Regions from separate parts of the Homo sapiens genome. Here regions 2 and 3 are each linked to region 1. The links are contacts of gene promoters, found by promoter capture Hi-C in blood cells and fetal thymus (Javierre and others, 2016). All regions are on one chromosome and are shown on one strand. The core of a region is centred on a gene start or on the middle of the fragment in contact, and the rest is flanking DNA. Distances in the headings are between cores, read along the strand shown. Region 1 holds the start of OPN5 (opsin 5). Region 2 has its middle 640 kb from the start of PTCHD4. Region 3 has its middle 57 kb from the start of ADGRF1.

Region 1 (4,758 bases), core at 1,248-3,747:
CTTAGGCTGTGCAAGGCCTGGGTACTTCTCGATATAGGAAGGACACTTCTTGATATTACACACACAGTCTAGTTAATTCCTCAGAAAATAGTATTATTTCCTTGCTTTAAAAATTATTGTCTAGGCCAGGTTCAGTGGCTCACACTTGTAATCCCAGGACTTTGGGAGGCTAAAGTGGGAGGAGCCCTTGACCCCAGGACGGGAGTTTGAGATCAGCCTGGGAACCATAGAGAGATACTGTCTCTACAAATAATAATAATAAAAAAAATTAGCTAGGTGTTGTGGCGTGTGCCATGGTCCCAGCTAGTCGGGAGGCTAAGTTGGGAGGATCACCTGAGCCTAGGAGGTCGAGGATGCAGTGAGCACTGATCACATCGCTGCACTCCAGCCTGGGCAACAGAGTGAGACCCTATCTCAAAAAAATTCTCTAAAACCAAGTAAAGCAGCATTTTATTGTTTTATATTCTTGTATTATTATTATATTTTCTGACCATTAGTTGCATCTTTTCTCTGTCCAGAAAATGATAGATACCCTCCCTAAGTCTAGATAACATGGTAAACCTCTGTTGTCCTACCTCATAATGCTGGGTTTGTAGTAGATGTTCAGTGAATACTTGAGTTAACACACAAGCATCCATTGATTCAGCATGGGACCCTGAGGAAATCTCTTATACAATAGCTATATCTTGATGGATAGGCAAGTTTGGGAAAAGTAAGCATCTCAGCATATAATAAATATACAGGACCCCCCATTCATAATATGCTTTCGAGTCCGATATCCTATTGCTCCTACAACAAGCATGAGTGACAGGTAAGAAGGAGACTGCCCATTTTACAGATGAAGTGGTTGCAGTTCAGAAAGTTTAAATGATTTGCTCAAGATCAGAGGGTGGGTATCACAGCTGGACTCCAACCTTCATCTTATGATTCTGAAGCTAAGGTGGAGGACAGGACTGGACAGCCAGTTGGGCGGGGGCAATCTTTGGGGAGGAGAGAGTTTACCAGAACAAGAGGCAGTCAAAGGGGAATCAGGAGTTTGAAAGGTAAAGATAAACTTTCACCTGGGGTAGGTCTTGGGATGTGGTGCATCTGGCAGCCAAAGATTTCTCCTACAGCTTTCTAACCATCTCAGGGAGAAGGATTTGGAATGAACATTAGCACATGACTGTCCTCAAACTGTGTGTAGGAGACTGTAGTTTCAGCCAACTGGCCACTGAAAGGGTCACTAGCCTTCCTCTGTAAGCTGTAAGTTGGCAGTTAGAAAGGGGTTAAATTCATGTCTTTTGCGAAGGTGAATTACATGGTTAGATATGTGCCGATCACCCTGTCACCGCCTGTGGGGCACACAACTCTGTGTTCCACTTGCTGTCTCATATAATGCCCGAAATTGTTGCCTAGAGAGCTGAACAGTGACATCTGTTGGTTCGATTTGAAATAGGCAAGTTCAAAAGAGAAACAGCCACACTAGTATTTCTTCCCCTTTCAAAACAAATAGGAACAATCATGACAAAGGAATGACCCTTCCAAAGGAAGTTTTAACATCAGCAGCATACTTTATCTGAAGAACAACACACGACTCCAAGTTTCAGGATGAGGGATATCATGTGACTTTTATTTTTGCAGAAAGCCCATCAAAGACTTTGTGTAAACCTTTTAAAACTCCAATTCAAAAGAAACAGTACTAAGACCTGTGTATCTGAGAAATTCCTCAATGCTCAAGATTTCATCCAGAAGCATAAATGAGCAAATAGAAAGTATGGATTTGGGGCAGTGGTGAGAAATAATGAAATTGCTTTCTGCTCTAGGAAACTTGAGAAACAAACCTTCCTGTGGATGTGCCTGTGAGTTACAACCCAGCTTGAATCCTTTCTAAATAGCTCCAAATTTCAAGATCACTTTGACAATCACCTAGCTCTTAGCTTCAATTAATTAAGTGTCCATGTTCCTTTGTACTGAATGCTCTATTTCTTTCCTTACAAAACTCTAAACCTCATTGAATGTACAATGGAAATGATTTTCTGGGAAATCTGGATAATCAAAAAATACTATATTCTGACAAGTTATATATATACATATGTAAATTTTTTATATATTATATATAATTTATATACATAAATTATATATATATAGTGTGTGTGTGTGTATGTGTGCACACTCCATACAATATCATTTCCTGCTCAGACCTTTACAAAAATTGCTAAGAAACAGTAAATTGCACAGTTTGGCCTTCAACCTTTTAATCACCCCAAGGAGAAAAGAAGTGGCTCAAAGAGTAGCATGAGAAAACAGAGGAGAAAATGAAGGCTTGGATAATCTGCCAACCGAATAACTGAGTAATGACATAATTGGATCATTGAAAAAAATGTTAAAATTTTTACCAGTTATTAATTAGAGAATCATGCATGACCCTGGGAACTTGCTTTTTGTTTTAAAACAGGAGCCACGATTATGAAATGGTTCAAGCTGGCTTATTCAGGTCTGCTGAGATCTCTACTGGTTTGCTTTTCAGATCCCTCGTGGTTCGAGAACAGAATGGCGTTAAATCACACTGCCCTGCCTCAGGACGAGCGCCTGCCCCATTACCTTCGAGATGGGGATCCTTTTGCTTCCAAACTTTCTTGGGAAGCGGATTTAGTGGCTGGCTTTTACCTAACAATAATTGGTAAGCTTCCTTAATTCTTCTGTGCAAAGGCTGCATTTAGAAAATTCATGGGCTGATATGTTAATTTTGTGAAAGGATTCTGATACTTAAGTGGATAGTTTAGTGGAGGCGAAGAGTGGGGAAAGGCAGAAGATGGAATGGCATTATGGCATTCAATAAATGTTTCCTAGAAATGACTCTTTATTATCATTATTATTAGGAATAAAATTCCATTGATAATCCAAGAACTCTTACAGCAAAATTATTTATCCATTTCATTTTGGTTACTTTGGGAGTAGATTTACTTTCTGAATACCAAAATTAATGATAATGATATTTTATTTAAACAGAGTGCTTTTTAAATAATGTTTTTGACATAATCATAAGTTTTAGGTTGAGAATGGGCCTTAAAAATAATCTAGGTCAGTCTCCTGTTCTCACAACTGTGCAAAACTCAATTGTGCTATTGTGCTATAGTACTATAGTAATGGCAGAAACACTGAGTTTACTTCACCTAAAAGTAAAGTCGCATCAAAATAGCTAAGCCATTTTGGTGACAGTTGAAAAATGTGTTGGTGATAAATGGAAGAAAGTCCGGGGTCAAAAGATTTTTGTGCATAATTGACGAAAGGGTGCACCTGCTTCTAGACTGCATGATCTCATTCATTCAGTAGCCACATGTGGCTTTTCCAAATTGAAAGTTGCTGTAGTGTAAATACTCACCAGATACTGAAGGCTCAGTACAACAAAAAGTGGTATAAAATATCTCATTAATAATTTTTAAAAATTAAATACATGTTGAACATACAACATTTTAGGTATGTTAAGCTAAATAAAATATATTATTAAAATTAATTTACTGTAAATTTTAAATTTATAAATTAAATTTTTACTTTGTAAATTTTTACTTTGTTTAATGTGGCTACCAGAAAATTTTAGAATCCATATGTGGCTCGCATTTCTGGCTTACATTACATTTATACTGGATAGCACTAATCTAGACAGTTAGGATTTAATTTAACCACCTATTTAAATTTAAGAAAAGAAACCATACTTTTCTTAAATTTAAAATTGTTGTTTTAACTTTGGGTGACCAGTGTGAAGGTGGGTTATGTCTTTAGGTTTGTTTGCCTTTAATTTTTTCAGATGTTGGGTCAAACTTGCTCTCTCTCTCTTTTCTCTTTGTTTCTATCTTTCTCTTCCACCCTTCTTCCCTTCCTCCCTTTCTCTCTTTTTCTCCCTCTCTCATCTATTTATTACTGGCTAAGAATTTCATTTAACCTCCTGAAAGTAGCAAAACTCATTAGAAAATACTTGATATCCCTCTATGGTCAGTACTTGAGGCAAAAGGAACTCATGTGATTCAACCAAATTCTGCTGTAAAGTGATTCCCTGGGTCTTTGTCTTTATTGTTGTTAGTGTTTTACTAGTTTAAATTCTGTTTCTTATAAATGAGTCCCCATCTCTTTTCAACATAAATATATATTGAGCGCCCACTCTTTGCCACTGTTTTAAGTTGCTGGGAATAGAGCAGAGAATAAAATGGGCAAACATTCTGCTGGAACAGAAACTGTCTTATCTCTGTAAAATCCACATTGCATTTTTATTAAACTTAAGTACTTTCAATTAACAGAAAAGGCAGAAAAATAAGCAACTTGATCAATTGTATTTAGCATAGCTCCATCACTTTCAAGGAATGAATTAAAAAAGTAACATCAATAACCTGACAAATCTCTCCAGACAACACAAAACAGAGAGGCCTATCAGTCCATTCCCAATCTTAAGCAGGGAGGATTGCAGGAGGATTGCAACCAGGGTGAGGAAATCAGGAGAATTTCCCACCTGATACACATGGAGTTGGAAGGAAAGTCCACAATCATATTCCAGTGGGTTTGCTGAGATGGAGCCAGAAAAACAGGTTGAAAAAGAGTCCCTGGACAGGGGGAGCTTCAGGAGGATCAGGGCACTAGGAGGTGGAGCCAATGGTATGTTAGAGAACAGTCACGCAGGGTGAGGAGAGGGGTCGACTGGAGGGGTTTGGACTCACCCTAGATCCACTTCTTGGACTTGGCCGTGTGTCTGGTTTTCACTCTCCTAGAATAGGCTAGTGTAGATGT
Region 2 (4,758 bases), core at 995-3,494, 960 kb after region 1:
AAGTATCACAAACTAAGTGATACTTTGCTACAGCAGCCCTAGAAAACTATTACAAACATCAAATGTATGTGTTTTGACAGATTTATATTTATTTCATTTTTGAATTTTTCTTTTCTAAGGTTTTAATATTTCCCTAATAAATGCAGAATATTTCGTTTGTCTCATATTAGGACAGGAATTTCTCAAATTCATAATTTTTTTTTGATATTTCAATTAAAAATACTGTTATTTAAAAGGAAAAATGAAATGCTCTGAATACAAAGGAATAAAATATTGTTACACACAACAGCATAGATAAACCTTAGACTAATTAGGCTGAGAAAGTCAGACAGAAAAATGCACGCACTGCATACCATTTATATAAAACTCCTGGATGTCCAAACAAATTCGTGTGACAGAAAGAAGATTGGTGGTTGCCTGGAGCTGGAGGAGTGGATGAAGAGGAGAAGCAGAAAGAAAAAAATGTACACAAGAGAAATTTTGAGGCTAATAGTTACATTCATTATCATGATTGTTTTATTGGTTTTAAGGGTTATACATAGGTCAAAATGTATCAAATTTTACACTTGAAATATGTACAGTTTGTTCTATGTCAATTATATTACATTAAAGCTAGCTGAAAATAAGGAGAGAAGAACATTTTCTTTTTGCACTCTGATTACAGTGTGGAGACTGGACTGTAGAGAGAAATAATGGAAGAAAAGGGAGAATTTTAGCATGCCTCCAAATTCTTCTCAAGAATATGGTAAGCAGAGGTTATTGATTGTAGGTGTGTATACAGAACTGAGAAATATATTGAGGTAAAGCAAAGGTAAAGATAAAGTAAAGCCCTCAATGTTAGATTGGAAATGGGAGGTAAGGATAAGGTAGAAGAAAGATTAAAGCATGACTCAGATTTGTCTTGCTCAACTGGAGGAATTGGGATTCTTTTCTATGCTGTAGAGAAACCTGGACTAGGACCAAGTTTCTAGGAGGAAACTGTTCAATTCAGTTTTGGAAATGCTGAGTTTGAGGCTTGCTTAAAGCCTCACAATTGAAGGAGTTGAGTAGAAGTTTGGGCAAAGAAGCATAGTTTGGAAATATAAATTTGGGATTCATTAGACATTTGATGGAATATTAAGCTTTAAAAATTAGAGAGAGAGGCAAATGAAAGTTTTCATTAGAAAGAGAAGAGACCCATGAAAGAGATTAGGCAATTTCTAATCTACAAAGAGAAACCGACAAAAACACTAAGAAGTTTCTATAATTTATAGTGACCATTTATCAAATTTGTACTAAATGAAGGAATGAATAATGATTTTTATGAAAAAACATTCAAATCAAAAACATTGCAAATCAAAACCACAATGAGATACCATCTCACACCAGTCAGAATAGCTATTTTTAAAGAGGCAAAAATTAACAGATGCTGATGAGGTTATGGAGGAAAAGGAACTCTTATACACTGTTGGTGGGAGTGTAAATTATTTCAACCATTGTGGAAGACAGTGTGGTGATTCCTCGAAGACCTAAAGACAGAAATACGATCCAACCCAGGAGTCCCATTACTGGTTATATACCCCCAAACATGCAAATCATTCTATCATAAAGTCACATACATGCATATGTTCATTGCAGCCCTATTCACAGTAGCAGAATCAACCTAAATGCCCATCAAAGATAGACTGAGTAAAGAAAATGTGGCACATATACACCATGGAATATTATGCAGCCATAAAAAATGAGATCATGTCCTTTACAGGGACATGGATGAAGCTGGAGGCCACTATCCTTAGCAAACTAATGCAGGAACAGAAAACCAAATCCTGAATGTTCTCACTTATAAGTGGGAGCTAAGTGATGAGAACACATGGATGTGTGGGGAAAACAACACACACTGGGGCCTTTCAGAGATTGGAGGGTGGGAGGAGTGAGAGGATGTGGAAAAATAACTAATGGGTACCAGGTTTAATACCTAGTTGATGAAATAATCTATACAACTAACCCCCATGACGTAAGTTTACCTATGTAACAAAACTTCATATATACCCCTGAACTTAAAATACAAGTTAAAAATGATTTTTTAATCAAAACCCTATCTTATCATGTTGGCATTTACTCAGTATTCAAAATAATTTTTAATGCGTATTGGTATTTTTAAGCTTTATTAACCACCCATTGGAATGTTATTCTTCCTACATCTCCATTCATGTAACTAACAATATTGTTAGAGATGACATGTGCATCCAAACAAATGGCAGGTTAGTAGACTTACGAGCAATAATCAATATTTTTTTTCTAATCTGTTCCTGGTAGTGTGCATTTAGAAACAGGAAGTCTTCTATTTCACATCAGTAATAGTAATAATAAAGCTTCAGTGTAAACATTTGTGAGTTAAGAATCCCCGACCGAGCGCCGTGGCTCACGCCTGTAATCCTAGCACTTCGGGAGGCCGAGACGGGTAGATCACGAGATGAGGAGATCAAGACCATCCTGGCTAACACAGTGAAACCCCATCTCTACTAAAAATACAAAAAATTAGCCGGGCGTGGTGGCGGGCACCTGTAGTCCCAGCTACTCAGGAGGTTGAGGAAGGAGAATGGCGTGAACCCGGCAGACAGAGCTTGCAGTGAGCCGAGATCGCGCCACTACTCTCCAGCCTGGGCGACAGAGCGAGACTCCCTCAAAAAAAAAAAAAAAAATCCCCTTGGTTTCAGTTTGTAAAAAAAACAGAATTTTCTTAAAACAACTGAAATCTTACACTAGACCTACAATTGTGCAATTAACAGAACACTATCTTTTGTGGAAATTTTCTTTGTGGAATTTTCTTTTCAACATTTTTTAAGTTCTGAGGTACATGTGCAGGATGAGAAGGTTTGGTACATAGGTAAACCTGTGCCATGGTGGTCACACTGCATAGTCTTGATGGAATTTTGAAATACATTAGCTCATACTATTGCCTAACAACTCTAAATAAATATTTATCTTTTGACTTTCCTTTTTATAACGTGAACCTCAAAAATATTGCTATAATTAAACTACTTGGCTCAAGGGCATTTTCTTACAACTGCATTAAAGTTCTCATAAAGTTTACATCATGTAGCTTTGCATTACAAACCCTTCTCGGTTTCTCTTGGGTTCTGTATTGCATCACTAAATCTCACTTCATTCTTCCTCTTTCTACTTAAACCCCTTCACTTACAATTAGACATTTGGTTATAAAATTGTCCTAAGACTTTTTTTTAACATTATCCCAATGTCATTTCCAATTTGAATGAATGTCCTTGTGTGCTGCACAGCCTTTTATCATCAGTATGCACCCATACTGGCCAACTATGTCAGAGAAAAAAATTAAGACATCAAAGATGGGAAGAATTAAATGAGGGAGGTGGAATTTCCTGCACTGGCAGGGATGAATCTAGTGACTGCCTAGGTTTCTAAGTTTCTGTATTTATACTTTGCCTCCAGGAAATTCTCTAGCAGTTAAGCACCTGACTTTATCCAGGGACACATCTAAAAGACACACACACTGAGGTCACTTGACTGTCTTTCACAGAGTCTGTAGGGAATTTATCCTTAGCTTATGAAAAAAGTACATGAAGTTTTGGGAAAAGGTAAGTGCTGCAAGTAATATTTAATACTCCAACATTATTATCAACCATGAGGCTTGTGTATCAATTGATATATAAGCAGAACTAAGGTGAGAAAACAAAATTTCATTAAAATGTTAATATAGGTCTATTGATTCACTTTGTCTTCTCACATTTAATTGGGTGTTTTATTTTTTAGTATATAGATCAAGAGAATATCGAACCATGATTTTATTGTAAAATACAGTTCCTTTTTTTTCTTTTTGTTTCAGGCTATTATCAATAATTAAGTTTGGTGGGGAGATAAAAATAGGTTTTCACAGGTGTAGCCTAATAAAGAGGAATTGAAAACAGGACCAGGAACAAGTTTGTAAAACTTACAAAAGGAGATTAATTTTGATATGTCTGTATAAGATATGCTGCAGTACTTCTGTTACATAATATGCAGATGTCTACTACACAAAGCTAGTACACAGCACAGAATTATGTAAGGTGCTTTTAGTTTCATCTATCCCAATGGATAATTTACAGACTATTAATTCCCAAACTAATAATTTACATGGTCCCCTTACTATTTTGAAATAAAATTTATTGAAAATATATCCTGACTACACAGATATTATCTTAAAATTAATAAAGTCTTAACTGTCATAAAAATCAGAAATAAAAAAATGCCTTAAACATAAAATAATGTGACTTTCAATATGTGAACTTTTGGACACAACTACACTGAAAAATATAATGAAATGGTGAAATGCAACTACACAGAGAACCACCATGAACATTGCATCTATAAAGTACACTGGATTAAGGGTGTTGCATTTAGGAGTCAAATGCCTAGCAACATTAATTTTTCTGATGTTCTTTTCTGAACGGAAAACAATTTAGGAGGAAATTTCAATCAAACCAAAGTATAATCATCTTCAGGGCTTTCATGGAAAATTCACAACTCTTAAACCTGTGAAAATAATTTGCTTTTATAAGCAAAATAGCAGAATATTAAAATCATGGATAATTAGCACACTTCCTCAGTGGTATATGATTGTCTTCCGGATATCTATAATCCCTGACCCCAAACAGTTAAATAGCAGTACACTCTTCTCTAATCTACAGGACAAGGAAAGAGTCCACAGATTAAAAAAAAATGTGTTTAACTATGACAATCCTTTAAGAAACACTGACTTAAAGA
Region 3 (4,758 bases), core at 599-3,098, 680 kb before region 1:
CAACCAAAGGCTCAAAGAGGACCAGAGGATAGAATTCCCCTTCTTAAGGAAATTAGTGAAGTTAAAGTTGAACCCAGCACAAAGTAGGTGGTAAAAAAATGTTAGGCCATTTTCTCCCAGCCCCTGCCGCCACTGACTTGGGGCTGCAGGGCAGAAACAGAGCCACAGAGCCATTCTGCATCTGCTCTCTAAGCTCTCCTGTAACTTTTATCTTAATAAAGAAAACACAGACAGTCAATTTGAGTCCTCCAGTGTGTATTTGTACTGCCTTTCCATTGGGAAATTCTCCCCACTGTTGAAGGGTTGTTGCTGAGGCCCCGTTGGACTGAGACAGTTAAACAGGATGGAACATGCAGGAAGGACGGCGGGGAACAAATCAGCATCATGAGGATGAATTCGAGGAACCAACTGGTTTCTTCATCACTTGCCCAGTGGTTCCATGACATTTCACACTCAAGGTCACATAAGGAAAAATATTTCCTCCAAAGTCCCCTAGACTTTGTCTTTAATGTACTTTGAGGCAAGCACTTACATGAGAAGGAACAGGAGCAGAAAACTCTTTGTCCTTTTATTCTCATGCTTTTGGCTTCTCTGACTTCAACCTGCAGAGGGCACTGATCCTCAAAGAACCGGAAGACCTAGGCCTGGCATTGCAGAAGGCCAGCTGTTCACCCTGCAGGGAGGGGAAATCCTGAGCAGTTCTCTGCGAATAATTTATATGATGGAATTTAACCAGAGACCTTATGAGCATTTATAAATGGAGTCTTTTCCCCCATATATTATAAGGAAGCTCCCAAACCATGGCTCATGCTGTTCATTCCTTCCCTTTAGAGATGTTTTCCCCACCATCCTATCATTAGCACTATGCCTCTAATAGACTTTCTCTGGAAACTAACCCAATATTTCCTGGTTACGTTCAGTATCTGAGTAACATCAGAAAGCTGAGAGAAATCTGGGACCCAGGAGCCAGTCCAGAGATTTTCAAGGTCATCGGGAGGTGATGCTACATGTTACCAAACACGGACATGAGTTTACAGACTAAAAACCTGATTTGACATCCCACCTCTGTTTCTTATGACCTTGGGCAAGTTATACAACCACACTGCAAGCTTACCTGTAAATGGAAATTATAATTAATCTTGTAATATTGTGGCATGTCATCATTTCATTTGGGTATGTAAAAAGGTAGCATTGTACCTAGCACAAAATAAGTGCTTTGTAAAGCTAGTTCTTTTTTTTGCCATCCTTCTCTCTATCTTTAATGATACTATACAGGATGGCATGATTTCTAGGCGAAACTTTCTAAAGAAGTTTCACCACTTTCTTGAATTCAATATTTGCCCCCCTAAAAAATAAATTTTTTTCATTTGTCTGGCATTCCCTCAAACAACAAGGAAGAGTAAAGGCCACTTCAGAGTCAGAAAGTTAGCTAACCAAGAAGCCCTAGGGCTCTCTTCACTCTTGTAACTCTGATTCCTACAGAATTGCGGGGAGTGGGTAGAGTCTCCAGGCCAGATCAGTCTATGGGGGATGAGTGTGGAAACTAAACTTAGCAGGAAACTCTCCTATAATGTGAGATCCCCCAACCCCATGCCTACTTCAAGTGCCTAATGTATTTCAAGGATGATACAAAGAGCCAAGCTTCATAATGAATCAAGAAAGTTCAGAAACAAATCTCAAGTAAATGTGCCCTCTTCGTATCCCGAGATGCTCCCCAATGAGTCACTGAGCTAATCTCATGGAGCAGGTCCAGTTCTAAATCTTGAGATTGCTAGATCCTTGCCCTCAATTATCTTTCTGTCTAACAAGGGAGACAAGGAATAAACAAGCAATTACAACATAGTGAAATAAGCACGGTGCATTTTGAGCCAAGTGTCAGATGTCTAGGACTAAAATTGTAAGAGATGGGGATCTGGGCTATGTTGAAGACGGCTTACATCCTTCATCACTTGCCGTATTTGGATGCCAAGATGACTTGTGGTGTTGCAATTCCCTGCCTGTCTTATCATGCAACTTCTGTGCCGCAACTTATTTGTAGTAAGCAAGGGCTAGAAATTAAGCTTAGGATAACACAGGGATAGATGTAACCAGAACCTGAATCATAGAATAATGTGAAGAAAAAATAGTTTAATCTTTTTTTCAATGTGGCTTTAGAATTTCTGAGGCTGCCGTACTAAATCGGAGGTATTTTTAAAACCTGGCATTTATCAATCATCCCAGTTTGCCTGGAACTGTCCCAGTTCTAGCACTGAAATGTTCATGTCCTGGGAAATTGCTCAGTCCAGAACAAATAGAACAGTTGGTCATCCTAGCTCTGTTCTGGGCATAGAAGCACCAGCAGAGCACAGAGAAAATGTACCATCCTAGTGCTAAGGCCTGAATCAAGAATGTCTAAAATCATAAACACTCGATCTACAAGGCCCACGTTGCTTTCTGAGTATGAATGGGAAGATATGTAATATTTAACAAATACATTGGTAAGTCATGAATGAATACGAAACTACAAGAGTACAAGAAATTGTGTTTTTTTGTTCTTGACAAAATTGCCTGGAACATAGGCTCCCAAGTTTCCAAGAGTGAGTGGAATTTACGTTTTCCTTGGTAGGCTTAACAAGAGAGCAAAAAGGCTAATAGCATAGGCATTGAGAGAAGACAGATCTAGCTTCAAATCATGGCTTTATTGCTTACATGCTGTGTGACCCAAGGTAAATTTCTCAATCTTTCTTTACATTAATTTGCTTTTCTTTAAAATAATAACACCTACTTTGAAATGTTGTTCTACAAATTCAAATAAAATTATCACAATGTATGGAATATAATGAGTACTCAAGAAATATTAACTACTATCAAAAAACAAAAGCAAAAACAAAACCTGGCATTTTGTTGTCCCTGGGGGTACCAAGTAGAGACAATAAGGAGCCTTAGCTCAGAGCAGCTGCGCACAGTGGCTCATGCCTGTAATCCCAGCACTTTGGGAGGCTGAGGTGGGCGGATCACCTGAGGTCAGGAGTTCGAGACCAGCCTGACCAACGTGGAGAAATCCCGTCTCTACTAAAAATACAAAATTAGCCAAGCGTGGTGGTGCATGCCTGTAATCTCAGCTACTTGGGAGGCTGAGGCAGGAGAATCGCTTGAACCCAGGAGGCAGAGGTTGCGGTGAGCTGAGATCACACCATTGCACTCCAGCCTGGACAACAAGAGAGAAATTCCATCTCAAAAAAAAAAAAAAAAAGAGTTACACAGTTCAGGAAAACAATTTTGTTATGAAATATTAGTAATACATATTTAGACCTATTTCCAGTCCCATTTTATTTTCATATGTTCCCATGGCAGAAAAGGACCTTGGGCTGAATGTCTTCATTTGCTCCTCCAGATTCACCCTCCATCTTCCTTTGTTCTCTGTGCCTGGTAGGCTGGCCTATGTGGTCTCCAAGAATAGGCATTCTTGCCTTCTGGATTCTGGTTGGATTTGGCTTAAATCAGCTGGCTGTGTCTCTCAACTGAAGAGCAGAGGTCCTGTCAAGAGGCCTTCTACCCTCAGTCGTCTGTCTCCTGGTTCTGGGAACCCCATTTGCCTCCTGTCTTCACATTTAGGGATGCTAATTGTTGCGGTGGGTTACCAGCCTCAGGGTTCTGCACCCTTCTATGAGGTTTCTCAACAGTCCAACCACCCATTTGTAAATCATCCCTTTGCGAACTCTCCTCAAATTATCCAACAGGAAGTACCTTTTTTGTCCTGCTGGAACCCTGACTGACACAGGCATCAAGAGAACATTTAGCTCAGTGATTTCTAAACACAGATCTGGGAACCAGTTCTGAAATGGCCACATCACGACCACTTAGGGAGCTTTTGAAAAATGCAGATTTCTGGATCTCACGGCTAGAGTACTGATTTCATGGGTCTTGGGTGAGGCCCCAAAATCTACTTCTTATGCCTCCCCTGCTATTTCTCATGCACGGCCAGATCTGGGAAGCATTCCCTGCTGAGGCCCCTAGTGGGTCCTCCTTCTCCATCAGTGCCTTTTGTTCTTGGTTCACATTTCACATTTCATGATCTCATTATGGTTACAGACAAAAAAATACAGCATATACAAACACTATAGATGTCCTTGTGAAGGTCACCTCCAGAAGAGTAGGCATTTTGAGTTGCTTTTTTCAGGCCTACAACACTGCCTGGCACATAGTTGCTACTCAGAGAATATTTGTTAAGTGAAAGCTGGATGAATAATTTATTAAGAACATTTACAGGACTTTAAGGTTTGGATTAGTTCAAATTTATGACTTCAAGGAGGGTATAACCTAAGCTCAATATTTGATTGAGATCCAAACAATAGAGAAAGTTGAATTCATCACTGAAGCTGATAATGGGCATAATTTCAAACTAGTAGCTTTCCTGGAATTTTCCCCCATCTGTCCTTCAAAGCCTGGTGTACATGGCAGTAGAAAGGGTGGCTCATGCTAAAAGCCAGGGAGCTATTGTAGCTGTCAGTCAAACTTTCTAGCCGAAACCCCAATTGTATCTTTCCCCTGGTCTGTACTATTATAAACATTTTGAGTACTTATGGTGCCACTAGTAACCCAGAGGTTGCTGCACGTTTTCAAATTGAGTGTTCTCCTGGAAAATAAAACCCATAGTCAGGCAGATCCTTCCGATCCCCTCCTATCCCCAACTATCTCTAATTGCCTGCAGGAACTTGTCCCTTCTCTTTGTTTTCCACTTTCCTCATCTTTTAAATGAGTTGTTAACAAAATCATTTC

The links. The method cuts DNA at HindIII sites, captures the fragments that hold promoters and counts their contacts. A CHiCAGO score of 5 or more calls a contact.
Region 2: a fragment that was not itself captured here is called in contact with the fragment with the promoter of OPN5 in region 1 in 2 of 17 cell types (M2 macrophages and M1 macrophages); the score reaches 7.0 in M2 macrophages.
Region 3: a contact is called between a fragment that was not itself captured here and the fragment with the promoter of OPN5 in region 1, in 1 of 17 cell types (total B cells). The highest score is 6.1, in total B cells.

What each region holds. Positions count from the first base shown.
Region 1 is chr6:47,779,535-47,784,292 of GRCh38, forward strand. OPN5 (opsin 5) reads left to right here and starts at 2,498. Exons shown (of 7, transcript NM_181744.4): 1 at 2,498-2,662. The coding sequence starts at 2,533. The HindIII fragment of the contact is 3,260 bases long and covers 1-2,665 here.
Region 2 is chr6:48,744,228-48,748,985 of GRCh38, forward strand. No RefSeq gene overlaps it. Among named protein-coding and RNA genes, the nearest start is that of PTCHD4, 640 kb to the left of the region's middle. The HindIII fragment of the contact is 210 bases long and covers 2,140-2,349 here.
Region 3 is chr6:47,096,925-47,101,682 of GRCh38, forward strand. No RefSeq gene overlaps it. Among named protein-coding and RNA genes, the nearest start is that of ADGRF1, 57 kb to the left of the region's middle. The HindIII fragment of the contact is 419 bases long and covers 1,640-2,058 here.